3 separate regions of the Homo sapiens genome follow, and all the other regions are linked to region 1. The links are contacts of gene promoters, found by promoter capture Hi-C in human tissues and cell types (Jung and others, 2019). All regions are on one chromosome and are shown on one strand. Each heading gives the region's core, a stretch centred on a gene start or on the middle of the fragment in contact. The rest is flanking DNA. Distances are from core to core; before and after follow the strand shown.

Evidence for each region. Contacts are between HindIII fragments. The study calls those that stand out against the background at their distance.
Region 2: the fragment with the promoter of RPS6KA1 here is called in contact with a fragment that was not itself captured in region 1 in 1 of the 25 tissues and cell types used here (aorta).
Region 3: a contact is called between the fragment with the promoter of FAM76A here and a fragment that was not itself captured in region 1, in 1 of the 25 tissues and cell types used here (liver).

Annotation. Positions count from the first base shown.
Region 1 is chr1:27,139,332-27,143,675 of GRCh38, reverse strand. The region is part of intron 1 of SLC9A1 (solute carrier family 9 member A1); the gene reads left to right. Among named protein-coding and RNA genes, the nearest start is that of SLC9A1, 14 kb to the left of the region's middle. RefSeq lists a silencer at 924-983. The HindIII fragment of the contact is 4,148 bases long and covers 1-4,035 here.
Region 2 is chr1:26,527,867-26,532,210 of GRCh38, reverse strand. RPS6KA1 (ribosomal protein S6 kinase A1) reads right to left here and starts at 2,450. Exons shown (of 22, transcript NM_002953.4): 1 at 2,228-2,450. The coding sequence starts at 2,290. LOC124903884 (a long non-coding RNA gene) reads left to right here and starts at 813. Exons shown (of 2, transcript XR_007065558.1): 1 at 813-1,013; 2 at 1,650-3,091. RefSeq lists enhancers at 22-933, 934-1,844 and a silencer at 2,086-2,565. The HindIII fragment of the contact is 11,905 bases long and covers 1-4,344 here.
Region 3 is chr1:27,724,128-27,728,471 of GRCh38, reverse strand. FAM76A (family with sequence similarity 76 member A) reads right to left here and starts at 2,511. Exons shown (of 9, transcript NM_152660.3): 1 at 2,311-2,511; 2 at 936-1,000. The coding sequence starts at 2,391. RefSeq lists silencers at 1,987-2,686, 2,525-3,167. The HindIII fragment of the contact is 12,090 bases long and covers 1-4,344 here.

The sequences.
Region 1 (4,344 bases), core at 712-3,211:
TCTTGAAGGGCTCTCTGGGGCTGTCCTGTGGGAAAGGCGGTCATTCCAGGGAAGCCTCTGTTCCGTTGAGGCCTAAGCAGACTGTGAGGCCCTCAGATGGGGAATTCCACAGCTCTATCCTTTGGGAGTGGGCCAGTGCTGTCATTGAGCCCTGGCTTCAAAGCACAGGGCTTTGTACAAGTACAGATCACGGTCATCTCTAAGTCCAGCTGAGGGTTACAAGGTTGAAGAAATGAGCCCACAGGGAGTCAGCTTTCTTGCTGGGGAAGTGAGACAACATACAAGGGAGAAAGCACAGGTGGGAAATTGTGTGGTTCAGGCTGGATGCTTGGGGGAATCAGAGGAGAGGAGAGATGAGGGAAGCTTCTTGAAGGAGGCGGCCTTGAGAGGTGGGCCAGGGGTAGAAGAGGAACATCATTCAGGAGGGGTTGCTAAGGGATTCTGGTGTAGGTGAGAGGATGGACTGGATGATCTGTTGTTCTAGGATCTAGGTTTCTAAGATTGTTTCTGAGTCCATGATAAAGTTTGTGGAGCTCCCAAAATAGTCTGCAGACAGTTGTATATATGTGATTTTATCAAGGGAGAAGGCCCATGATAGACTCAGATTTTTTTTTTTTTTTTTTTTTTTTACACAGTTGATTGTCAGTGTGTAAGCCACAGATTCTGAAGGTTAAGAGCTTCTGCCTTTTGTGTGGTGGGAACTTGAAGAAGGGTAGAGGACTAACTGGTCTGGGATGAATCCTTGGAGGAGGTGGTACTTAATTCTGGGATGAGTGGGGTTTGCCTGTGGGACTGCAGAATACCTTCCAGGCAAGGAGAAGGACCCCAGAGTGAGTAAGCTGTGTCCTGAGAGAAGGGAAGGGGAAATGAGTCCTTAAAGTAGAGAAAAACTTTTCTAAGTTGGAAATCAAAGCAGATGCAACATGCTCCGCCTACACTGTGCAGCAGGGAAGGTACTGGCTTCTTTATGCCCTCTGGGTCTGCTGGGTTGCCATGGTGAGCCCAGCTCACACACAGTAGGTGACTCAGGCCACCTGCCCATTTCCCTAAAGCGGCTAGGGCCCAGGCACACCTCTGAGGCTCTGCTAGTGGGGAAGCAACCACCTTTGAGGCAGCAGACGCAAGAGAAAGCCTCTGAAGGTGGACAGGCTTTGAGGATGCAGCTAGGAAGCCCTGACTGGCCTCTGCTGTTTCCTGGACTGAAGGTCCCTGTTCTCTGTTCTCACTCTGCTTCTAGGAATGAAAGTATAGAATATTCTAATTCTAGAATGTTAGAGATGGAAAAATCCTTATCATAGCTTGTAACCCCCAGGCCCAAAGGGAAATGGAGATGTTTTGATCAAGTTCTCTGTTTTTCCAGTTGAGGCCCAGAGAGGATTGGCCCCAGGCCACTCGTGAATTAATGGCAGAGTCAGTCTTCTTCCCTGCTCTGTTAACTAACTCAGGAGTCCCTAGGCAGTAAGACCTGGACAGTGGACCGAGAGGAGGGGCTGTGGTTTTTGGCTTGGATATTGGTAGCATTGGCAAACCTCAGTTCTTCCAGTGGGCCCTTTAAGCCTAAAGAAGGGCAGCTTCCTCCTGGGGTATCTATTAGGGAGCTGTCCTTGGCAGAGAAACCATTGGTCCTTACACTGGTCCTTACAGGGGAGCCAAGTACAGGTCTTGGGACCTCTGAGACAGCCCAGAGGCTTCTGCCTTCACCCATTGAATCCCTCAGGTCGTGTAGTCCATCACAAGCCAATGTTGAACTTGGGTGCTGTGCTTTTTATAGCATCTTTGCCATCAAGCCAGGGAATAAGATCTTATCTCCCCGGTGGCCAGGACCCACAGGAATCTGGATGCTGTACCAGGTAGGCGTTATGCCAGCATGAGGCGGGGCCAACTCACCTAACTGGGCAAAGCCTAAGACTCAGGTTACAGCAAGATGGGGGAGGGGAGCAGGCACCCTACCCCACCCGCTTCCCTGACTGAGCACTGCCTGCCTGGCTGGTGGAAGGTGCAGAGATGCATGAGAACTGCTTCTTTTACCAAGCTCAACGACTTGTTTGAGAAATGCGGTACAGATGCAAAACAGTCAGACAGTAGAAAGGGGGTGTGATTTGAAGTGCAGATGGAATTCTACGGGAGTTTAGAGGTGGGAGAGAGAATTTCGTACCTGGGAAGATCCCAGTAGGCTGTGCAAGTGACCACTGAGCTAGGCCTTGAAGTATATGTAGGATTTAGATGAGATACTTGAATGAAATCTCACTGGGCACAGCCAGAAGCTTCTACTTGGGGCAGAACCTCTGGATTGCAGAAGAATGTCCCAGAGCAGTTCCCTTTGGAAACATGCCCACAGGCATGGTGGTTAGAAAAACAAGCTTTGCAGCTTGACAGACCTGGGTTCAAATCTCAGCTCTACTACTTTGTAGCACCGTGACCTTGGGCAAGTCACTTATCCTGTTTTAAAAAAATTTTTTTTAATTTTTTATTTTGAGATGGAGATTCTCTCTGTCACCCAAACTGGAGTACAGTGGCACAATCTTGGCTCACTGCAACCTCTGCCTCCCTGCTTCAAGCGATTCTCCTGCCTCCCGAGTAGCTGGGATTACAGGCTTGTGCCACCACGCCTGGCTAATTTTTGTATTTTTAGTAGAGATGGGGTTTTGTCATGTTGGCCAGGCTGGTTTTGAACCCCTGACCTCAAGTGATCCCCCCAGCTTGTCCTCCCAAATTGCTGGGATTACAGGCGTGAGCTGCCGTGCCTGGGCTGTGGAGGTGACCCGCCTGGTGTCATATAGCCTGACTGTGGCAGAGCTGAAGCTGGACTCCAGGACTTCCCCTTCCAAGTCCTGTGCCATTTCTCCTACATAACATTTATGTTATGTTACCCCACCTAGCTGGAGTAGCAAGACTGATCGTCTGAAACATTTAATGAGCAAAGGGTGATTTTGTATGACAACTTGATGTGTAGCTATAAAAGCACTCAATTTTGCAGAACAGATGATGGTTTTAAAAATAGTCCCAGCTATGATAAGTGCTAGGTGAGTGATGCCAGTATTAAGGGGAAAAGGTGTGCCCTTTTTAAGCTACATCACCCTGTCTGAGCCTCAGTTTCCCCAGTCTAAAGGGGGGTGATGTCTGTAAAGCCCTGAGCACATTGTAAGTGCTCACTAATGGGAGTTGCTACTATTCCTGGAGCCTTAAAGGAAGAGGTGAGGGTGGGGTCAAGCACTGGAGGATGGTTTTAGGTATATGGACTGGAGGGCATTGGGGTGAGCTGAGTACTGAGGTTAGGGGTGCAAATGAGACCATTAGCTGAATTGTCTGAGCTCGTTCTTTAGTTGGGAGGTGGGGAGACACATGTTCAGCAAATGGATTCGTGCTGATAAATACTGTACTGAAGATGGAAAGATGGATAAATATAATCCCAGCCTCAAGGGAGAGGCTGGCATGTAAACAGGCACTTGTGATGTGCTGTGAAGTGCTGCAGCAGGAGCCTGCAGAGCTGTGGGTGTGCGGGAGGGAGGAGTGGAGGTGGGTGGGTCAGGAAAGGCTTCCCAGAGCTTTGAGCTGGGTCCTGAAGGTTAAGAATGAGTGTTTTGGCCAGGTGCGGTGGCTCACACCTGTAATCCCGGCACTTTGGGAGGCTGAGATGGGCGGATCACTTGAGGTCAGGAGTTCCAGACCAGCCTGGTCAACATGGTGAAAGCTCATCTCTACTAAAAATACAAAAATTAGCCAGGTGTGATGGTGCAAGTCTCTAATCCCAGCTACTTGGGAGGTTGAGACAGGAGAATGGCTTGAACCCAGGAGGTGGAGGTTGCTGTGAGCCGAGATCGCCTCACTGCACTCTAGCCTGGGCGACAGCGAAACTCTGTTTCAAAAAAAAAAAAAAACAATGAGTGTGCTTAGCTCACATAGAGGGGAGAACTGGAGAAGGGCACAGAGATGTGAATGACACAGAGCCACAGATCATGCAGAACCATTGACCTTTGCTTCTAAAACTCATTGGGATGTTTCCAACCCTTCCACCTCACCCCCAAACACGCCTCACTCACCTGTTTTGCTGGGCAGAGAAGCTAACTGCACCTGTGGGGCACTGAGCACCTGTGATGGCTGTCGCCCTGGTATAGGCAGTGAGGACAGAGCTACCTACCACTTACTGAGACCCTGCCAGTGCCTGGCTTTGTGCTCAGGGCTTCGCATAGTGCATCATTGCCTTCTGCACTATGTGACGGCCCCGAAGGGTGCGAGTCATGGTATCTAGCTTTATTTAGCTTACAGCTACTTTAGGAAAGTGAAACAGGGAATAATTAAGTGCTCGAGGATTGCTGTGCTGTTGCCTCAAAGAACAGGAGACCT
Region 2 (4,344 bases), core at 1,201-3,700, 610 kb after region 1:
CGAGGCCCAGGCAGAATCCTCACCCACGCTTCCCATAGATTACTCCACCTGGGCTGCACCCTGGGCCAGGCCCTGCCTCCCAGCGGCCCATTTTCAGCAGCATTAAGGGAGGGCAGGGCAGTCCAGATCCTAGGTCCCTGTGAAAAGTCCCCCACCAGCCCCTCACCTGCCTCCTTCCTGGCTAGGAGCTGCCAGCAGTGGTGGTGCCTGTACGTGCAGGTCAGGCGGCTGTATCGCTTACATGTCACCTGGGCTAAGAACAGCGAGGCCCTGTTCTCCAGTGAGAACAGCCCAACCTGCGCCGTGGCTGCCCTGTGGCTCCTGTTACCCAAACAATAACACCCAGTCGCCTGGCACCTCCAGGAGTGGGGGAGGGGGGACCAGACAACAGTACCCAGCGCTCTGCACCCTCTCAGGCCCAGGAAGTGGAGGCTAGAACCTAGCACTTGCCACTGGAGAAGCAGAGGCCCAGACAGGCTGAGGACTGACTGAGGATCACACATCGTTTCTGGAGCGAAGCTCCTGAGGAAATTGCGTCCCCCTGCCCCACCAATCCCAGGAAGTCCGCTGGTCTTCCCCTCTCACAGACCTGAGATGTTACAGAACTCAAAACTGAGATGAGTTTCCCAGTTAAACCTGGCTCCCTGGTGAAGCTGGCCCCTGCCTCAGGATTCCCTAAAGAGAAGCAGGAAGTGGTGCCCCAGGATCGAGCTCCTGGGTGTCCACCCTCCCTATCAGCATAAAGTCACTCCCCAGCCTCTCCCAGCCCTACCTTCTCCTTTGGAGGCCTGGTCCCAGGGGCGTGCCTGGGCAAAGGAATCCACCTCTGAGCACCACCCCCAGGACCTTGCGCCCCGGTCCTAGTAGCGGGGTGGCAGTACAGGGGCTGCAGAGGGCAGTGTTCCTCACCTCAGAGGGTGAGTCAGCGAGAGAACCTCTGAGCAGCCTAGCAGTGCCTGTAAAATCCCCATGGCAGGAATCCCAGAGCAATTTACTCCAAATTGCTCCTTCAGGTTGGTTACCTAATCCTGCCGCGCCCACCCTCCAATAGCCAGTGTCGGCCATCCCTTTAAAGGGGCAGCACACCCTGGGGGCTGGGGACCCTGGGTGCTCACCCTGATCTAAGCCTGTGGTCCTGAGAGGCAGGACACTTGGTGGCTGCCCTAGGTAAGAGAGGGCAGAGGAGGGGACTGAGACAGGGGCTCCAGGCCCAAGCTGGGAGAAAGTCATCTCAGCTCCTGGGCTCAAATGAGGTCTCCATTCCCTCCCTGCATACCCCCAACAACCACCTGGGAAGGAGAATATCACCTGCTTCCTTCCCAGCAAGAGGTTAAGGAGGAAGTTTTCCACCAGCTCATTCAGGGGCTTGACCTTGACCCTGGGGTCAAAAGGCACAGGAAGAGGTGGCCTTCTGCACGCTTAGGGACTGGAGCCACAGAGCCCTCAAGGGAGGTCAGGAGCTGCTTCTGAGAGAGAAGGAGCTGGGTTGTCTGGGGAGTCTGGGCTGGCAGAAGCCAAACTCCCCAAGGGCCCAGCCCTTCCTACCGGAAGGGGCATAAGAAGGGAGGCAGGCACCAAGGTCCCCCCACGCCCTGCCAGGAATCATCTTCACAAGGTCTAAGGGCTCTTCCCCACTCTCGTCTCCACAGCCTGGGGTAGGGCACACAGGTGTCCTCTGGCCCTAGCCTCAGGGCAAAGAAAACCAGGAGTTCCAGCCCCAGACGGGTGGTGCCATCCCACACTCCGCATCCGCCAGGGGTCAAGAGGAGCAATCCTTCTAGGCTCAGCAGCGGTGAAGCCAGAAGCAGGGAGCTCTTGGCGGAGGGCCCTGGGAGAAGTGGGGGTCCCATAACCCCTGTCTCTGGTAGAATCCCAGACATCTGGCACTGAAGATCTCCCCGTCTGCATTAATGGAGGAAGCTCCGACAGCTCTGGACAGATGCCGGGACGGGTCCTAGGTGTGGGGTGAAGGCGACCAGATCTCAGCGCCCCATAGGATCCCCTCTCCTGGCTATGGCGGGGAGGTAGTCGGCGCTTGGCGGAACTGTCCCTCGCACACGCACACCCGGGCATAGGGGGGTGGAGCCGGACAGTGGGCAAGAGATCGGAGGGCACTCGCGCCCTCGCGGGCGCCCGCCGGACTGCAGCGGCGCTTCGGGCCGCCCCGCCCCTGTGAGGATCCGGGCTCGCCGGCCGCGGGCGCCCGTCCCCCGCCCCGCTCACTCACCTCCGGGTCCAGAGGCACTAGCTCCATGAGCGGCCAGGGCTCCTTGAGCTGGGCGAGCGGCATCTCGCCGCCGCCAGGTCACCCGCGCTCCTCCGGCGGCCCCGGCTGCGCCGCCTCCCGGGTCCTGGGGTCCCTGGCTCTGCGACCCGAACCGCCGCGCCCCCCCGAGCCCCTCGCGCTCCGGCTGGGCCGTCCGCCGCCGCCGCCGCGGCACTAGCACTTCGGCTCCCTCCGTCACCCGGCGCCGCCGCGCCCATTGGCTACCTGCGCGGGGGCGGAGCCGGAGAAGCCCCGCCCCAGCCCCCGCGGCGCGGCATTCCCAGCGCGGACCCCCGCCCCCGCCGCGCCCCGAGGGCCGGCCCCGCCCCTGCCGCGAGCCCCCGGCCCGCGCTCGGCTCCGCCGGAGAGGCCCTGCTGGCTCCTTCCCTTCCAGTGGTGTACCCCTGGACACACCACACCAGGGCCACCGTTCTCCCCCGCTCAGCTCTTTTGGAATCCCAGCCCAGATGTTCCTTCTCCTTCCAACGGGAGAGAAGCACCTTATCCCCGACCCCAGCACACACATTCACACTGGGTTCCTGGGCCTGATCTAGGCTGAGGCTTGGAAGGAGCCTGAGACCCACTCCCCTTAGGCCCTCAACTCACCAGGCCCTAGAGATCCCCTATCCTCTAATTTCTACCCCGCCCTGAAGCTAACACTGTGATCTCCGGGCGATCTCAGTGCCCCAGGCCAAGATGGGCATCAGCAGTTGTTACCACCATCAGGACCCATAGTGCCACCACAGAGTGATTGATTGATCGATTGATTTTACATAATGTATATAAATATTACATATATAAATAAATATGTATAAATAAATATTATATATATGCACATATATGTATGTATGTGTGTATATAGTGAGAGAGAGAGAGACACGAAGTTTCGCTTTGTTACCTAGGCTGGTCTCTGACTCCCCGGCTCAAGTGATCCTCCTGCCTCGGCCTCCCAAAGTGCTGGGATTACAGGCATGAGCCACCGCGCCCGGCCAAGAGTGATTTCTTAATATGCGTTTTTGCAATCTGTGCTCTGCCCTATCACTTGAAGGGGGTCCTTTCAGGTCAGGTCTCCCTGGAGTCACCTGCAGCCCCAGCTCTGGACTAGTTTGGGTTTGCGACTCTCTGAGGAGGGACCAGGCTCCCAGGATGAACCGAGGCTTGGTGGGACTTGGAGTGAAAGGCCAGGGAGACTGGTTGCCCCAGAGAGATTCAGCCTCCACCTAAAGAGCCTTAGGGGTCCGGGTGTGCTGAGATGTATTCACATGTGAGGAGTGAGCTTGCTGGAGGGACAAGCTTGCTGGTTTCGCAGGAAGACTGGTCAGTTATTTGCAAAGCTGTTCTAAGGCAGGGGAATGGGAAGGAATGTTTATCAAAAGCTTCCTGCGAGCCATGTGATTTCCTTGAATGATTACCACCACCTAGTTTACAAATCCTGAAACAAGCTCGGAAAGATGAAGTGACTTACCCAAGGTCACACAAGAGGTTGAGAACAGACTAGGGCTTAAAAAAATCAAAGTGTCACACCTGTAATCCCAGCACTGGGAGGCCGAGGCGGGCGGATCACGAGGTCAGGAGATTGAAACCATCCTGGCTAACATGATGAAACCCTGTCTCTACTAAAAATACAAAAAATTAGTAGGGCGTGGTGGCAGGCACCTGTAGTCCCAGCTACTCGGGAGGCTTAGGCAGGAGAATGGTGTGAACCCGGGAGGCGGAGCTTGCAGTAAGCGGAGATAGCCCCCACTGCACTCCAGCCTGGGCGACAGAGACTCCATCTCAAAAAAAAAAAAATCAAAGTGGATAAGGATTTCTCCAGAATCCACGTGCTCCCCCTTTTCCATGGCTTTCCCAGGGTAGGACCTCAGCTGTTGAACTGAATTTTGAGTGAAAGGACTTTGGAACCCAACAATTCTGGGTTTGAATTCCAGCTCTGCTACCTTCTTAACACAGGGAAACTCATTTTATGCCTCTAAACCTCAATTTCTCCATCTGTAAAATGGGAATTATAATCTCAATCTTTCAGGTATATAGGACAAGATTCATTTTAATTCAATAAATTTACAGCTATATATTTTTTA
Region 3 (4,344 bases), core at 1,262-3,761, 580 kb before region 1:
CTGAGGTGGGAGGATCACTTGGGCCCGGGAGGTCCAGGCTGCAGTGAGCCATGACGGCTCCACTGCACCCCAACCTGACTGGGAGAGAGAGACTCTGTTTCAAACAAAAAAAGAGATTTGCCCAAGGAAAGTGTAATGGCAAGTGAGTTTCAAATGTGACTAGAGCTAGCAAACTCTTATCAGGATTGTCACATTTCCAAAAGTATCTTCTTTGGGCTTATAAATTCTTCAATCTCTGTGTATGTACATATTGAAACATGAGGCTCATGTTTTACTGTTGTGGGATTGGTTTCTTCTTGACAAAAAGATTATAATCACAATATAAAATGATCAAGGGTCTTAAAAAGAACTTTAAAAATTTAAGCAGGCTGGGCGTGGTGGCTCACGCCTGTAATCCCAGCACTTTGTGAGGCTGAGGCGGGTGGATCACGAGGTCAGGAGTTCAAGACCAACCTGGCCAAGATGGTGAAACCCCGTCTACTAAAAATACAAAAAAACTAGCCGGACATGGTGGCAGGCACCTGTAATCTCAGCTACTTGGGAGGCTGAGGCATAAGAATCGCTTGAACCTGGGAGGGAAGGGTTGCAGTGAGCTGAGATCATACCACTTCATTCCAGCCTGGGTGACAGAGTGAGACTCCATCTCAAAAAAAAAAAAAAAAAAAAAAAAATTTAAGCAATCAATGGATAATAACTAGGAAACAATACATGTATTATATACCCTTCATTGTATATCTCACCCCACACATGAATTAACTCAAGATGGATCATAGACCTAAATATTTAGCAATTATAGTCTGTATATAATGTGATTGATTACAGATCTGTATTTTACAATGCAACTGATTATAGCATCTGTACATGAAATGCAATCAATTACAGATTTTAAGAGGAAAAAAGCCTATTAATATCTTTCATGGTCAACAAAACTCTACCTCTCCTGCTGGTACTCAGTCCTGCAGTAGGTGCACTTCACAACAGGGTGTGCAATCCGACATTCCTGAAATGAAATGAGGATATAATTTTAAAAGGCAGTCACAAATGGAAACAGCCTTCAGTAGGAAGCCGACCTGGGTACTATTTCTAGCATAGCTACTATGCTTGAGTGAGTCACTTAAACTTTCTGGGCCTTATTTTTCTCCTCTGTAATACTGGCATCACTTCCCTACTGTTGATGTGGGAGTTAAGTAAGAACTTATATGGATTATATGGAACTAGCCATAAATTGTAAAACAAACATATATATGAACAAGTCCCAGACTGGGAATCAGAAGCCCTGAATTCCAGGCCTGGTTCTTCTGCCACTGTGTGATTTTGCGGTTTACTTGTGAAATGAAAGTGCTGGATTAAAATTATTATTTATATATACATAACTTCCTTAAAATCATATATACATATTTTGAGGCCAAAAAGGGCACTCAAGCACTTGCATTCCCCCAGACCTGGTATATAAAAACTGGCAAATGGAAAGTCATGACCATCTGAGGCAAAAGTGACAATTATGAGTTATCCAAATCAGAGACACAAACTGGATTATTGGATAACCTCAACATTATTCTTCAGCCAGTTTGGTGACTTTTTAACTGTTGCCTCACAGCACCTCTAGTCACTTAAAAAGTAAAAGTGGGATAAAGCAACTTAAAAGAAAAAGAGAAGTTGGACCTTCAGGAGCAAAAACTGATCAGCAGCTAGTCAGGGAAGACCGAAGACCACCAACTGGATGCTGAGAAGTGATCCCTCGGATCTGTGAGCCTGACTGTGGGGCTTTTTTAAAACATAAAGCCTTGCTGCCTCCGATTCTGAGACTGGCCGAAAAGTGAGATGCTTAAAAAAAAAAAAAAAATCAAGCCTTGCTACCTCCGATTCTGAAACTGGTCGAAAAGTGCCCGTGAGGAGCCCGAGTTCGACACATTCCTCCAAGGCAGCACCCAACTTTGGAGTTCAGTCCCAGGAGGGGCAGGAGGTCCCCACCAGGGAGACCGCGGCGGCGGGGGAGGCAGCGCAAAGGGATCCCGAAGGCGACCAGTCAGGGCAAGCAGGGGACCCGCTGTCCCTCCCCCGACCTCACGGGGTCCGAGAACAATCCCCACGGTTGCTAAGCACCCGGACACGCCGGCCGCGGGAGCCTGGACCGGGTCCCGGCTCCCGCACGTGCCCCGCCGGCCCCCAGCGGGGTGGGTGCGGCTCCTCAGCCTGGCGGGCCTGCCACACCCTGCTCCGGGGACCCCGCCGGGCGTCCCCACAGAATCTGGAGCTCCGGGCCGCGCCTCCTGCGTCCCCAGTTCCCGGCCGCCGCCCCAGCCCGCGCACCTTGCACAGCTGCTGCCCCTGAGACAGCGCCTCGAAGGGGAAGCGCTGGTGGCACTTGGTGCAGGCGTAGAGCGCCGCCATGTCCGGCCCGGGCCGCGCTCACCGACCCGCCGGCCCGGCCCGCCGATTTATCTGACAGTCTGAGGCACAACCCGGCGGCGGCTGCAGGCTGCTGGCTGCGGCAGGCGGGCGGGCGCAGGCGGGTCGGGGCGGACCCGGGCGGGCTGGGGCGGGCACGGCGACTCTAGACGCCCGCTCACTGGTGGGCTTTGACGTCGATCAAGTGGGAAGGGGCGGAACACGGAGCTTTCGCCCACTCTGATTCGGTCTGGCCTGGAGTACGCCACTGTGACGCTCCAGGCCGCGATTATGTAAAGCGCAGTCACGCGGGGGCGCCACCTGGAGGGGACAGGCTCCCGGCCGGGACCTCGGAAGAGCTTAGGCTCCGCCCTACTTGCTCAGCGTTCCCGCCCTCGCTCCGCCTCTCCACGGCCTCAGGCGCATCTGCGCTTCTCGCGATACCTTCGGGGATTTGTGATGTTTTGGTTTCCATGGAGCTGCCCTCTGGGAGCACGAGGGGTACAATTGGAACGAAGGCGGCGCACAGTTAACTGGAACTCTGCAGCCGTCCAAGCCCAAAGAAGGTGGGGAGCTTGGGAAAGAAGTTCCTCATAATCGGAGCAGGAGGAGCCCGCCCAGCCTCGCTCAAAGGAGGAGACGAGACTCTGAGGGACAATTTAGAAGTGTGTCCTCAATTTAAGACACCTAAATAGGGAACTGTGGGGCTGTGGGCCTTAGGAGAGAAAAGGAGAGCCCCAGAGAGAGCACCCCTATGCTGCGGAAGAGGGACTAAAGAGATGGCAGTCCTTCCAGGAGGGATTGGACAGATATTCAGGCGTCCGGTGGCCTGCAGGCCCCCATCAGAGTGGGCTGCAATTGGCCCAGACCTGCTTCCTACTTTGTTTTCTCCGGTTTCACCCCCAGCTTCTCTCGCAAGCAACCACCTGGTGATTCCTGACGAGGCCTGACTTCCGGAAGGCAAGCCACGCCCTCCGGGCTCCCCTGCCTCTCTTTGGCTCCAGCTTGGCATGTATAGGAGCTGCCCAAGGAATGACAGACTTCTTGTTCTTGAGGTGTTGGCAAAGCTTCCTGCACTGCTGACCTATCCAAGTCCTGCCTTGTAGCTGCTCTTGGGCATAGGTTACTCTTGGCTCTGCCAACCACCCGTACAGGACTAATTGCAGTTTTACCTCAACGTGCGCTTTTTACAATTAAAAACTGACTTAATGGCTTCTATTTCCCTGCCTCAACAAAAAAAATTTACTCTCTCTGAACCCAAATCTGGCTGCTTCCTTGTAGGATCCCCCAAAGATGTGCATTAATCATTAGGATCAGAAAGCAAAGTTTCCAAATCACTGTTCCACAACTAACTACATGACCTTGGATCTATCACTGAACTTCTCACGGCCTCGTTTTTCTCAATTGTACAATGAGGTCATTGTGAGAATCAAAACCAGTACATGAGTCGGGGCGGGATGGCTCACAACTGTAATCCCAGCACTTTGGGAGGCTGAGGCCAGAGGATCACTTGAGCCTTGGGATTTAAGACCAGCCTGGGTCGGCCGGACGCGGTGGCTCACGCCTGTAATCCCAGCACTTTGGGAGGCCGAGGCGGGTGAATCACCCGAGGATCACCTGAGGTCAGGAGTTCCAGACCAGCCTGACCAACAAGGTCAAACCCTGTCTCTACTAAAATACAAAAATTACCCGGGCGTGGTGGCAGGCGCCTGTAGTCCCAGCTACTCGGGAGGCTGAGACAAGAGAATTGCTTGAACCTGGGAGGCAGAGGTTGCAGTGAGCCAAGATCATGCCACTGAATTCCAGCCTGGACTACGGGGCAAGACTCCGTCTCAAAAAAAAAAAAAAAAAGACCAGCCTGTGCAACACAGTGGGACCCCATTTCTACAAAAAAACTTTTTTAAAAATTAGCCGGGTGTGGTGGCACGAGCCTGTGGTTCCAGCTACTCAGGCGGC